Linked DNA regions of Homo sapiens: all the other regions are linked to region 2. Evidence: promoter capture Hi-C in 16 types of primary human blood cells and fetal thymus (Javierre and others, 2016). All regions are on one chromosome and are shown on one strand. Each heading gives the region's core, a stretch centred on a gene start or on the middle of the fragment in contact. The rest is flanking DNA. Distances are from core to core; before and after follow the strand shown.

The links. The method cuts DNA at HindIII sites, captures the fragments that hold promoters and counts their contacts. A CHiCAGO score of 5 or more calls a contact.
Region 1: a fragment that was not itself captured here is called in contact with the fragment with the promoter of PTHLH in region 2 in 2 of 17 cell types (endothelial precursors and megakaryocytes); the score reaches 10.8 in endothelial precursors.
Region 3: a contact is called between a fragment that was not itself captured here and the fragment with the promoter of PTHLH in region 2, in 1 of 17 cell types (endothelial precursors). The highest score is 5.3, in endothelial precursors.

Annotation. Positions count from the first base shown.
Region 1 is chr12:28,171,086-28,174,823 of GRCh38, forward strand. No RefSeq gene overlaps it. Among named protein-coding and RNA genes, the nearest start is that of CCDC91, 18 kb to the right of the region's middle. The HindIII fragment of the contact is 769 bases long and covers 1,801-2,569 here.
Region 2 is chr12:27,971,134-27,975,119 of GRCh38, forward strand. It overlaps PTHLH (parathyroid hormone like hormone), which reads right to left and starts at 1,600. Exons shown (of 6, transcript NM_198965.2): 1 at 1,390-1,600; 2 at 794-886. RefSeq lists an enhancer at 3,984-3,986. The HindIII fragment of the contact is 3,977 bases long and covers 1,520-3,986 here.
Region 3 is chr12:28,152,891-28,156,955 of GRCh38, forward strand. No RefSeq gene overlaps it. Among named protein-coding and RNA genes, the nearest start is that of CCDC91, 36 kb to the right of the region's middle. The HindIII fragment of the contact is 691 bases long and covers 1,528-2,218 here.

The sequences.
Region 1 (3,738 bases), core at 935-3,434, 200 kb after region 2:
AATTGTCTCTGTGTTAAGCAGAAACTTTCCATTTGCTAAAATTAGGGTACATTTACATTTTTAATAACAGCTAAGTTTAACAAGCCTTATTTTCCTCAGTGGTGGGAGGACACCTTGCAGCTCCTCCCATTTATTGTGACAATGTAATTCAACTCTGTTAAGCTTAAGTGAACAATATAGCCCTCTGATTTTCACTTTTAACAATTGCAAAACATTTTAGTAAACAAAATGTTGCTTCTGTAGACTTTTGAAGGTATCAAGAATAATGAGCCCTCCAAATACATCTGAATTAATTTATAAAAGATGAAAAGATAAGAAACTATTTAGCTTCATAAAGATTTTGACTAGGATTTTTTTATTTAAGATTTTTGGTAAACACACCAATTTCTTTCCCAAATCTCCTTCGCCTGGGTCCTGTATTTCAATGAATGAAGTCATCGTCCTCCTACATCAGCTCAAAACCTCAGACTATGTTTTGACTTCTTTCTCTCTTTACCCCACCCACATCTACTTAGTTTTTACTCATACCAATTCTACTTTTACAGAATCCCTTGCTTGCCTTCTTTATTCAATCTCAAAGCCTACAGGATTAATGAGATACCTTTTTAACAGATCTCCCTACCTTTGGGAGCTTATTTATCAGTCCATCCCACAAAAAAACTGCTATATCAATTTTTTTAGTACAAAATGCTGAAGCTGATCTTTTACTCCTATAACAACTTCCTGTTGTCAGTTCAGTTTTTGGAGTATGGCTGGTATTCAGTACACTCAAAGACATATTCACTCTATGACTCTTTAGCATTATTTCCCACTACTACCTTTCATATACCCTAACCGTCTAGGTCCTTTAATTTTGTGCATCCATGATGTTTTCTTTATTTGGCATGTGCTTTCATTACTCTCAATATGTCCAAATGCTTTCTGCCTCACCTGTGAGACTCAGCTCAAATTTTGAACCCTTTCCAAATGCCTTTATCTTTTCCTTCACTGAATTCTCTTAGTATTTTATATGTAACTCCCACTTTATGTAATTTTGATAGTGTATTAATTTTCATTTACACTTTAATCCCTTGATAGATTTCAAGTTTCTTGTAAGCAGGATTTATAGGTACTTTATCTTGTTATATCCCACATTCTAATTGTTCGATTAATATTCACTGAATAAATCTGTATGCAATACTGGAAACTCTTGAGAATTCAGGTGTGAGATATGTGAAGCAAGGCAATTTATCGACCAGTGGATATTATACATTTTTAAGTCTAAAAGAGACACTTGACCTCAGCAATGCCAAAATCATTGTCATAAAATTGAAACTATTATACAGAATTCACTAAAACCTTATTACATGATCTCTCATGCGGTAATTGGTTAATTTTTCAATGTTAAGAATTCCATGTACAGGGCACAGTACAACAAATCTAATAAACAACTTTCATAACCTATTGTCTTGCCTGTTGTCTGGTTCTGATTATTTGACATTGGTTTTTCCATAGGAGACATCCAATGCAGGAAGCAAAAGAGTTGATTACTGCACACTGCCCTCTGGTGAGCCACATGGGTAATCTAGAGGGGGAAATTCAGAGTTGAGAATGTAATTCACTCTCCATGCCTAGGATGCCAGTTAGTGCCAAAGAATTATGTCACATTTTGTGATGTGATCACTTCTCTCAACTGTATACTCTCCTGAGCCTACTAATTCTTTCCATGCAGGTCATCAAATGGCCATCAGTTGGTAAAATTTTCCTCTTCATTTAGCCAAAAATGGATCCAGAATATTTGTAATGAGTCTTACTAACCCAAGCTTTTCAAAAAATTGTGCTATTACTTCTACCATGACATTTCCCTGCATCTTCATATATCCCCAAAGCATTGTATGAAAACAATGGTAAAACATGTTGTATTAGTCCGTTCTAGCATTGCTATAAGGAACTACATGCAACTCGGTAATTTATGAAGAAAAGAGGTTTAGTTGACTCATGGTTCCACAGGCTATACAGGAAGCATGGCTAGGGAGGCCTCAGGAAACTTACAATCATGGTGGAAGGTGAAGGGGAAGCAGGCACATCTTCACATGGTGCAGCAGGAGAGAGAGAGCAAAGAGGGAAGTGCTACACACTTTTAAACAACCAGATCTCATGAGAACTCACTATCACGAGAACAGCAAGGGGGAATCTGCCCCCAAGATCCAATCACATCCCACCAGGCCCCTCCTCCAACACTGAGTATTACAATTTGACATGAGATTTGGGTGGGGACACAGAGCCAAACCATATCACATATTGTTCTCAGCTTGCAGAGAAGTCAGATTCTTTGTAATTGACATGCTAAATTCTCTACATTCACATAAACGAGTCTTATTTCATATATAAAAACATGGAGCTTTCTCATTCTTGAGGAGAAGTCCAAAAATCAAATAATCAATCTTATAACATTAGAAGTACTCTTTGATTTGGAAGGACCACAGGTATGTCTAGCTTTTGACCATATCAAAACTGCCATATTGCTGGGTGATATTACTCATTTATTACCAGCTGACTGAATACCATTCACAGCTAAATCAATAATGAAAGCTTCAGAACAGGTATGAAACCACTCAAACCTCACATTCTAGGAGGTACACAAATAACCCAGTGTCTAACGTTCATTAGCTTCTGAAATCAACTCTATTTGCTGTTTGTACACAAGTATATTTGTCCATTTTTAATTCTATTCCTAACTTCAGGAATCTGCATTTTGTAAAAGTTATACAAATAATGGATGATCTTCAAATAAGTGTAAATATCCTTACTGAAAAAAAAAACACTTGTAAAAACATAGAATAAATGCTTTCTTGTTTAACGGAGTGCTAAACTTGATAAAAATATGTCCCCATTTATCAAAATTTTGACTCTTCAAAATCCAAGCAACTGATTGATCATCTAGAACCTACTAAAATAGAAATGTAATTTTTCCTTACGTTCTTTATCATGCAGTTGAAAGTTTAAATTATATAAGAACAAAAAAGGGGGTAAGGAGGAAGCTGGAGGGCCAAAGTGAGGGTGGAATTTTTCAAAAAAAGAAAAAAAAAATATAAGAACCACATCCTTTCTTGAATCTCAATCTTTTAATTGTCTGAGGCCATTTATGCGCAAACTCAGTAAACTGGTTTTTACTTATTGTTAATTTATTTTGCTTTCAAATAAGAAAGCCTTCTGTGAGACACTTTCCTGCTGGTTTCTGCTGATTTGTTGCTTAACTGTGGGTACTAGTTTCCTGAATTCAGAGAGGAGTTCAAATAAAATTGCATCTAAGTTCATTTAACTGTAAAACTCTGTTTCTAATGATATCAGACATTAATGAATAATGATTTTAAACCAACAGATATTAACTGTATGTGTACTATATATTTAAACTCAATTTTTGTATTGTATATTATGTAGCTTAAAAGGTACCATAAGGATAAATGGTATATATCAAATTGCAATTTCCCATAGAAATAATTCACTCAGTTTTGTTTTCATTTTGTTTGTTTTTAATCTTCTCTTTTGACTACATTTGAGAGGGAATTTCTGGCTAGCACAGAATCCTTTTTAATTTGTTTCTGTATAATGTGCAGCAGATATACTTAATTAATGAACTGATTAGCAACTTCCTTAATTACTTTCCAGTAGTTTTTTTCATTATTAAATGTTCAGCCTTTGAATGAATATCTACCAATATATGCCATCACAATTTAATCAAATAGAATATATCTGTAT
Region 2 (3,986 bases), core at 350-2,849:
CCTACCTGCTTGTCCCCTCCCCCTCAAAAGTCCCAGGTTACAGATTCTTGGAAGACTGTATCCGAGTCGCTGCAGCCAGCGGACAGATGCAGTGGAACTATGGTTATGTGCTGCTCTGCCTGGGAGAAGCGACGGGAAAGCCGAGGTTCTTTCCAAAGCTAATGGGCGGGGAAGAAAGACTGCTCGGAATTACTGGGTAGTATCATCTAGGAAAGGATTGCAGCGGGAGTGGATACCCTCCCCAGGGCTCCTCTAACTTTTTGAAAAGAGCGCGAGTGGACTGGGAACCATTCAAGGGATATTTGTCTTCTAGGCAATCCTGCTGGTAGGGTTCATTAGTTTCTAGAAGGCTAGTGTGATTTAGATTCTTGAGATGATTCAAGGAATGTGGCCTTTATCAAGCCCGACTTTCCGGGTGATGCTCCACATATTTTACCCAGGGTGGGAGAAATAGCACGCTGTCACCGAGACCCTCGCTCATCGGGGCTCCCACTGGTTCACTGCAGCTAGCTAGCAGTTAAAGTTTACTGCTTAGGTTGGGTGGGGGGGCATATTTTCTTAGAAGCTCCTGCCTTCCTCAGTTCATTACTGTAAACCCCGTACCTTAAAAGACTCGGCTTCTTCTCACTAACAAAGAAAAAAAGCAAAACAAAACCAAAACACACACACGCACACACACACACTCTCTCTCTGGGAATTTCCACAACTTCCCTTGAATGTGTAAGGATTTCTAAATGTTAGACTTGTTTGGATAGTATGAAAGGACAAAGTATCAGCACTCAGAAATGTCAACCTTTGAACCTCGAACACTTTCTGATTTATAAAAAGAATCCTTCCAAAAAGATGCAGGAGCCCTAATGTAATCGTTAGATCTGAAGGGGGAAATCTGTAAAAAAAAAAAAAAAAAAAAAAAAAAAGTCAATCACAAATGAGCCATTTAATACTTGCAAGTTGTTTAACATTGAAATGATAATATTTGCTTCCACAATAAAAAGTCCAAGGTACCTAGCCAAGTTTCAAACTATCCAGGCTTTAAAAAGTCAACCCTTCTCCCAATAGAAGGTTAAAACAAAAATCAGATTGAAATTATCAAATCACTTATGTTGTAAATAAATTCACTTTACTTTCAGAACATTATAAATTAAGGACTGGCATCAATAGACTGCTTTGATTTATGTTGCTTTTTCTACTAATTAAACAAAATTAACCCCCCACTCCTTCCCTCCTTTCTTTTTCCCCACACACTTTTCTGGTGTTAATGGCAAAACATCTATCAAATATTTTTAGAATTTCCTCTCCTCCACAAAAAGAGAAAATATAGACACAGGAAAAATAAATAGTCTTTATATACTCGGAATACCAAAGTTCCCTCCTAATTTATTACTTCACCTTTTCCTTGATTTACAATCTTCTCTCTGCTCTTCTGGCTGAAAGAGGGAAATCTTCTCAGCAGTCTTTTCCAGAAATATTTTTTGTTGTTCTTCAGAAAACATAAAATTAAATCTTAAAATGAATTAAAAGCTTCTTGAAAGGAGACTTCTGTTCCCACTAAAGGCAATTATTAGAAAGCAGGTACCTCTTCCAAGCTGCCCTGTTTATTACTTTCCGTAGAAATTCTCCTCAATATATACCCAGGACCCTGACTTTTTGCCTGTTTTGGAAAGGATATTTTCTGACATCATAATCTAGTTCCTAACATAACTGAGTAATCTCCATCATAATAATGCAGAGGATGCATGACTGCAAATGAGACACAGCAAGAGCACCCCCTACCACCTCCCTCCCCCCCCCGTCCCCCCAGCCCACACACACACCTTTTTTCTAAGGTTTAGAAATAGAACAAGTGCCAATAGAAGCTAAATGTTTGCTTAGGCCTTGCTGTCATGTAAATGCACCTTAGCAAATGGGAAGGCCTGCCTCTAATCTGAAGTATTTCCATGTTTAGCATTATAAGATCTACACCTACACAAATGCCTAGCCCATGAGCACCAGGCTTCCATCTTCCCATCCCCAGTGGCAGTTTATTACAGTATATCAAATTTTAAAAGAGGTTGAAAAAATTTTAAATGCATTACTCTTAAATTCAGTTGAATACCCAGTTAATGTATATCTCCTGTCATAGCTTAGAAAAAAGTAAATAGCATTTATGCTTAGCCTCTTCATCCTTCTTTCTTCTTTCCTCCTTAACCCAAACAGCAAACAGATATACATTATAAACCAAATATGAATCTATAGCACTTTAAACAGTGCACCTGGGCTTGGGAATTCTCTTATTACCAATAAGCATCCAGATTTCACATTTACCAATCTGTAGCTGCAAGCTATGTCTCTAAAATCCCCTGGAACCAAACAACTAAACTCATCCCATCTCTTCTCCAAACTTTTTTCAATGTTTACAAAGAGACGTTGCATAATCAGCTCAAGTAATGCTCTCATTGGATTCCATTAGAATGTGGCTCTCATCGCTCGCCTGGACTGAGACTTGAGAGGAGGCTGTTGCCAGCTGACCTCAAGGTAGCAAAAAAGAAAAAAAGATGTAATGCCTTCAAACCCCAAGTAACAATAGGAAAGGGTGTGTTTCTTTATTAAATCTTTTTGTAGTTAGGTGAGGATAAGACTTCTCCAGGAACAGGGCGGGCTGCTAACCTCTGGAGGAACTGCCTCAGGGAGGAGTGTATAGATATGCATCAAGCTGATGGGATCCTCCCATGGGAAAAGTGGGCCTCACACCCTTCCTCACCCTTCCCTACTTCCTGGGCAATGTTCTGCTTCCCCCAAACTGAAGCAGGAGGCCCAGAGAGGAGGCGGTTTCCTGGGAGGAACCCAAACCAATGTGAGATGAGAAGGTCTTTAGGAAATGGGGGTCTCTGAGAACCGGTTCTTAAAGGTCAAGCACTTGAGCACCTCGCAAACTCCTGACAATTGAAACATATCTGAAGAGTCTTCTTCAGATATGTCTCTGTGTGTGTGTGTGTGTGTGTGTGTGTGTGTGTGTGAGAGAGAGAGAGAGAGAGAGAGAGAGAGAATATGAATGTGCAGTGTCCCAGTCCTGATCTCCTGGACTGGTGCCAGCCAGCCAGATGCCTGCCCTTGGCTGGCCAAGTTTTTGGCTCCTGAAAGTAGGCAGCTCTGGACTTGTACGAGGCCACAGAGAGAGTTCCAAGCCCCACCTGGCTCAGGCGACAACCTCTCAACCTGAAGTCAATCTCCGGTGGCATCACAGGGCCCTCCTGGCAGCAGCCCAGTTCCCCACATGAACCGAATGGTCCTTTCTTAAATTTTGAGCCGGGGGCTGCCTAAAAGGGGCTGCCCCCGCAAGCATTTTACCTCCCTAACACCATTCTCTGCCCGTGCCACGCTGGCCTCGAAGTCCCTTCCCAGGGCAGCACCCGGACTGAGATGTCTAAACTCTCCGGCAGGAAGGATACCTATCCAGACACCCGCACTGGATGTCCTGTCTGTTTGGCTTTGAGCTGGTCATTACGGTGTCTTTGGATCCTGCCTAACTTTTCTGTAATTTTTATCAGAAATAAGGCTTCAGGAGAGCAAACGTTGAGTTATGCGCTCCTTCTCTGGAGTCTCCTGCCCTGGTGTTTGCGCTCCCACTGCAGCAAGGGAGGCCTGAGTCTCTTAGGGCAGGGGTCCAGGGTCTTGGGAGAGGCCTTAGGGCAAGGGGGATGATCTTTTTCAGCCTCCCCTCCCCTCCTCCCACCCAGCGTCCTCATCCCCACCGCCTGCGATAGACTTGGGTCGCCCATTAGGAAGCTGATCCGCAGGGACGGGGCAGGCTTGGCTCCTGGGGATCTTAGGCTCCATGGGAACTTCGGGGGTCTCGGGGCCCGTGAGCGGATCTAGCTACTACTTCCCCTAGGTTCTCCTCGGGCTTCAGTCCCTAAGAGTCTGGACTCCGGACTGCCGCACAGAATCCTTCTTGCCCGGAGCGGTATTATTGAGGTCTTTGCGTTCTGCCCCGCCCTGTCCCGCCG
Region 3 (4,065 bases), core at 623-3,122, 180 kb after region 2:
ATCTGTTTACTCATAATTGGTTCTTTGGCTGTGCAAAGGTTTTTAGTTTAATTAAGTCCCATTGTCTATTTTTGTTTTTATTGCATTTGCTTTTGAGGACTTGGTCATAAATTCTTTGCCTAGGCCAATGTCCAGAAGAGTTTTTCCTAGGTTTTCTTCTAGGATTTTTATAGTTTCAGGTCTTACATTTCAGTCTTTAATCCTTCTTGAGTTAATTTTTGTATATGGTGAGAGATATGAGTCCAGTTTCATTCTTCAGCATATGGTTTTGATAGGGATTTCTTAAGCTCGACCAGCATGTTTTTAAGTATATAAGTGGAGGGAGATTATCTCTAGAACACGGGGACAAAAGAATCAAAACACATGACCCTTGCTTCCCCAAAATGAATTTCCAAAATATTGAGAAATAGCATATGCACATATGAACTAAATAGCAAAAGCAAACATCTAGCAATGTAAGCCATGCTGCGTATTGATTACTGAAGAAATGGAAAATAAGGACAAAGAACGGGAATCTTCAGGGAAATTTTTCTCATGAAGGGAAATTTTTAACAGGTCTTAAGGAAGATCATAGTAATTATACTTCAGAGGTTGCAAATTTATGGCCCATGTTTTGCTAGGCCAGCATGATGTTTTAAAAAACAACTTAGATTTGAATGCCTGTCTATGAAACATGCCTTATCCAGTTTAGCCATCCTTGGTACCACTACGTAGTGTTTTATTCCATCATTTACTCTATCGTGAGTATATTGTTTGCCTGTCAACTGAGTACATTTAAATTTGTAGCTCCTAGATGTAAGTTGTCATAAAGTAGTGGGCAATCATTCATTCTTGGGAGACGAGTATGTGCAAAGGCAAAGAGATGTGAGCCATAAATGTGTGTGTGTGAAATAGGGATGTAATAGAAATTGTCCTATATGAAGCTTAGAGACTGTTGGTGGAATTACAATAGATGAAAAATGGTTAGTTCCAGAAGGACCAAGTGATTGAGACCTGTAATTACTAGTCCAGAGAATTTAAATTTTCCCCATTAAGCAGTTGTCTACTACTTTAAGTTCTTGGGTTCAAGAGTTATTTGAGTTACTTAAAAAAAGATATTTGACTGCTATATAATGGTTAAACTTGATTGAAGAGAAAGATATGACCTTGAAAGCTTTGCAGTACTCTAGGTAGGAGATAATAGTTTGGATAAAGGGGGTAGTTCTGGAGGTGAAAAAAAACAGAAAAGAGAGTGTCCTAACAAGTAAGAGAAAAAGTGTTAGACAAGAACTATACAGAAATAAGTTATGAAACTACCGTTTCCACAGAGAGTAAGAAAATTGGTGAGAAATGGCAGGATCTAATGTGCTGTTACAAAGGTGGCAAAATAAATAAAAGCTGTTTTTCATATTAGCACACAGCAGCTCACAATCCTGTTCATGGGTTTATTGCCTTCCAGCAGTTACTCACGGCTCTAGCTGCTTGACTGTGCCTCTTGTCAAGAAAGAAATAGCAGCCATATGGGGTCTTCTGTATTTTATTCATTAAAGCTTCTTTTATTTGTTGTTTTAATGTATTTAATTCACTAAATTATTACAGATGTTTTATATTACAATGCTAATAAGAAAAATACGAAAAGATGCCCAACTTCTTTTAAGCCTGGTAGAAGTGGAAACATTTTTCCTTCTGCCTGTTCAAGTTTCAGTTGATCCTTTCTGAAAATGCTGACTTAAAATGGATGGTCTCTAACAATTTTAAGTAGTGAGAAAGGGGAACAAATTATAATTGACATTTTGAAGAAATCATTATACATTCTGCTTTGAGAAAGTTCAAGACATTGAGAATTTGGAAGCCTCATGAAGAGCCCACAAAGTGCATTATTTTTTCCCTAGTATCTTCAATACTATTTGAGTACATTAAATATATAGAAATGCTTATAGTATGTTAGCATTTTTTGGTTGTATTTGTTGAAGTGTGTGAAAATCTAAGAACCAGCTTTTGTGGATGGGTTTTGTGGGAAGTACACTTCATGTTGAACAAAGGGAGATAGTCTTCCCAAGCAAGCACTGCATTTATGTGTGATTCATATATGTGGATTAGACCACTTAGGAATAAACACAACAAAGAAAAGAAACTTCCCTCTGGGCTTCATGATTTATATGAATTAAATTTGTCACTGTTAAGGTAGATCCAGAAGGCTCACTTAAGATTGTATTCTCCAAACCCTGGGCTGCATTAAAGCTTATGATATAGCCACAGGTAACTATGTTAGATTTTTCTTTGAACTTGTCTGCTAATTGGAGCCCTGTCACTGCAGAAAGCAGTTTAAATTTAATTAAGGAACAGGAAACTCCCAAGTCTAATTTTGTCCCTGAGTTGCTGTATGGGTTGTCTCTCAGGACTTTAACAGCTGTTGAGTGAAGGTTTGTGAGTGTATACTAAAGCATAACCCAGTGAAACATCACAATCACAATCTAGCATTGTGGCTTCTTTCTACATAGGATAACTCTCCCAATTCCATACACATTGCATTAAACCATTAGACTCCTGCTTACTTTGATGCTGTTTTTAAGGGTACCTTCAAATAAGGGCCAAATTTAATAATAATATAAATTACAAGTTAAACAAATAACTCAATTTTCCTTTCTTCTAGTCTAGATGTAATTTTCCTAATTGTTTTTGGTGCTAAATCCTCCCAAAATAATCAGGTCATCTGAATCTACAGAGAAAAACTGAAATGCAATTAAATTAGAAAATGCATATAAAAAATCTTTGCAAAGAATTAGGAAATTTTAAAATATTATCAAAATACAATTTCAACAAAAACCAACTTCCCAAGACACGTTTATAAATTTCTCTAAGATTGATGTCAAGGGGATAGCAGAACTCTCCTTCCTCCATTAGCTCCTTGGAGCAGGCACAGTATGCATTCATTTTGAACAGTTTGCCTGTGGAGGCAAGAGCTTCACAAGGTACTGACATGGGAGACTTGCGCTAACATTAAATAAAATTTACAGGGGCCATTGGTTTGGGCTGAGCTCCTGCATTAGGCCCAACAAACCAAAGTAAACTGGAGTTACTGATGCTGAAGTTCCACACCATCAAGCCAAAACTAAGCTGTTTATCTGATCTTCTGAAAAACCAGGAGAGAGAGAGATTTAATAGCAAAATCCCCAAAAGAGGCCCATTTTAGCTGGCATGATAAGGAAGTCCCCACTGCTTTAAGCTTTACAAGGAAAGTAGCTGAAACGATCAATCCCTTTTTGCTCTGTTTCTGCTTTCTTCAGCTATTTTCTGCCCATAAAGCCAAACTCTCCTGCTCAGCTCGTTGGAACACTCATTCCATTTTATAGAATGAAGTGTTGCCTGATTCTAGAATTGCGAATTAAAGCAAATTTGAACTATGTTTGTTATAATTTTGTCTTTTGACACTAACCATGGATGTTCAACTTTTTTTGGTGGAAATTATATTTGCATATAGAAGAGACATAAAATATAATTAGTAAGCATTCTCAAATTGCCAACAATACTAACACTTTTAAAAAACTAGCAGTTTTATCTCAAATGAATAAAACGTTGGGATAATTCTGTGAAATCTTTCACTCCTCTTCCAAGTATGTTGCTTTGAATAAATACAGCTTAAGAATCTCCCTAACATATTGTTACCATGTTACTATGTGCTGTAAATGCAATAGTCTTAAAGACCAAATTCTAACCACAACCATGTATTTCCTTTGTTTTATATATTTAGGTCAGGCACTTAACATGGCTTTAACATAGTTCCTTTGTGGTTTAATTTCCTTTGTGATTATTTATTTTATGTAATGGGAGTGTAAAAATGTCCCAAGGACTGAAAACAAATTGCAGCTCCTTTTTAACATAGGCACTAAGAAGTACTCTGTTACTTTGCCTTTGGGTGAATATTAAACTTTCAGGATCATTTTGGGTAAAAAATGCAACAGTGAGACATTTACATTTTCTTAATAAAACAAACACGGGAGACTACATTCACGGGCATTCTTTCACACTCTCTTGGGCCCAAGTCTTATAACAAACAAGGAATGAGAAAATATGGACTCCTCAGTG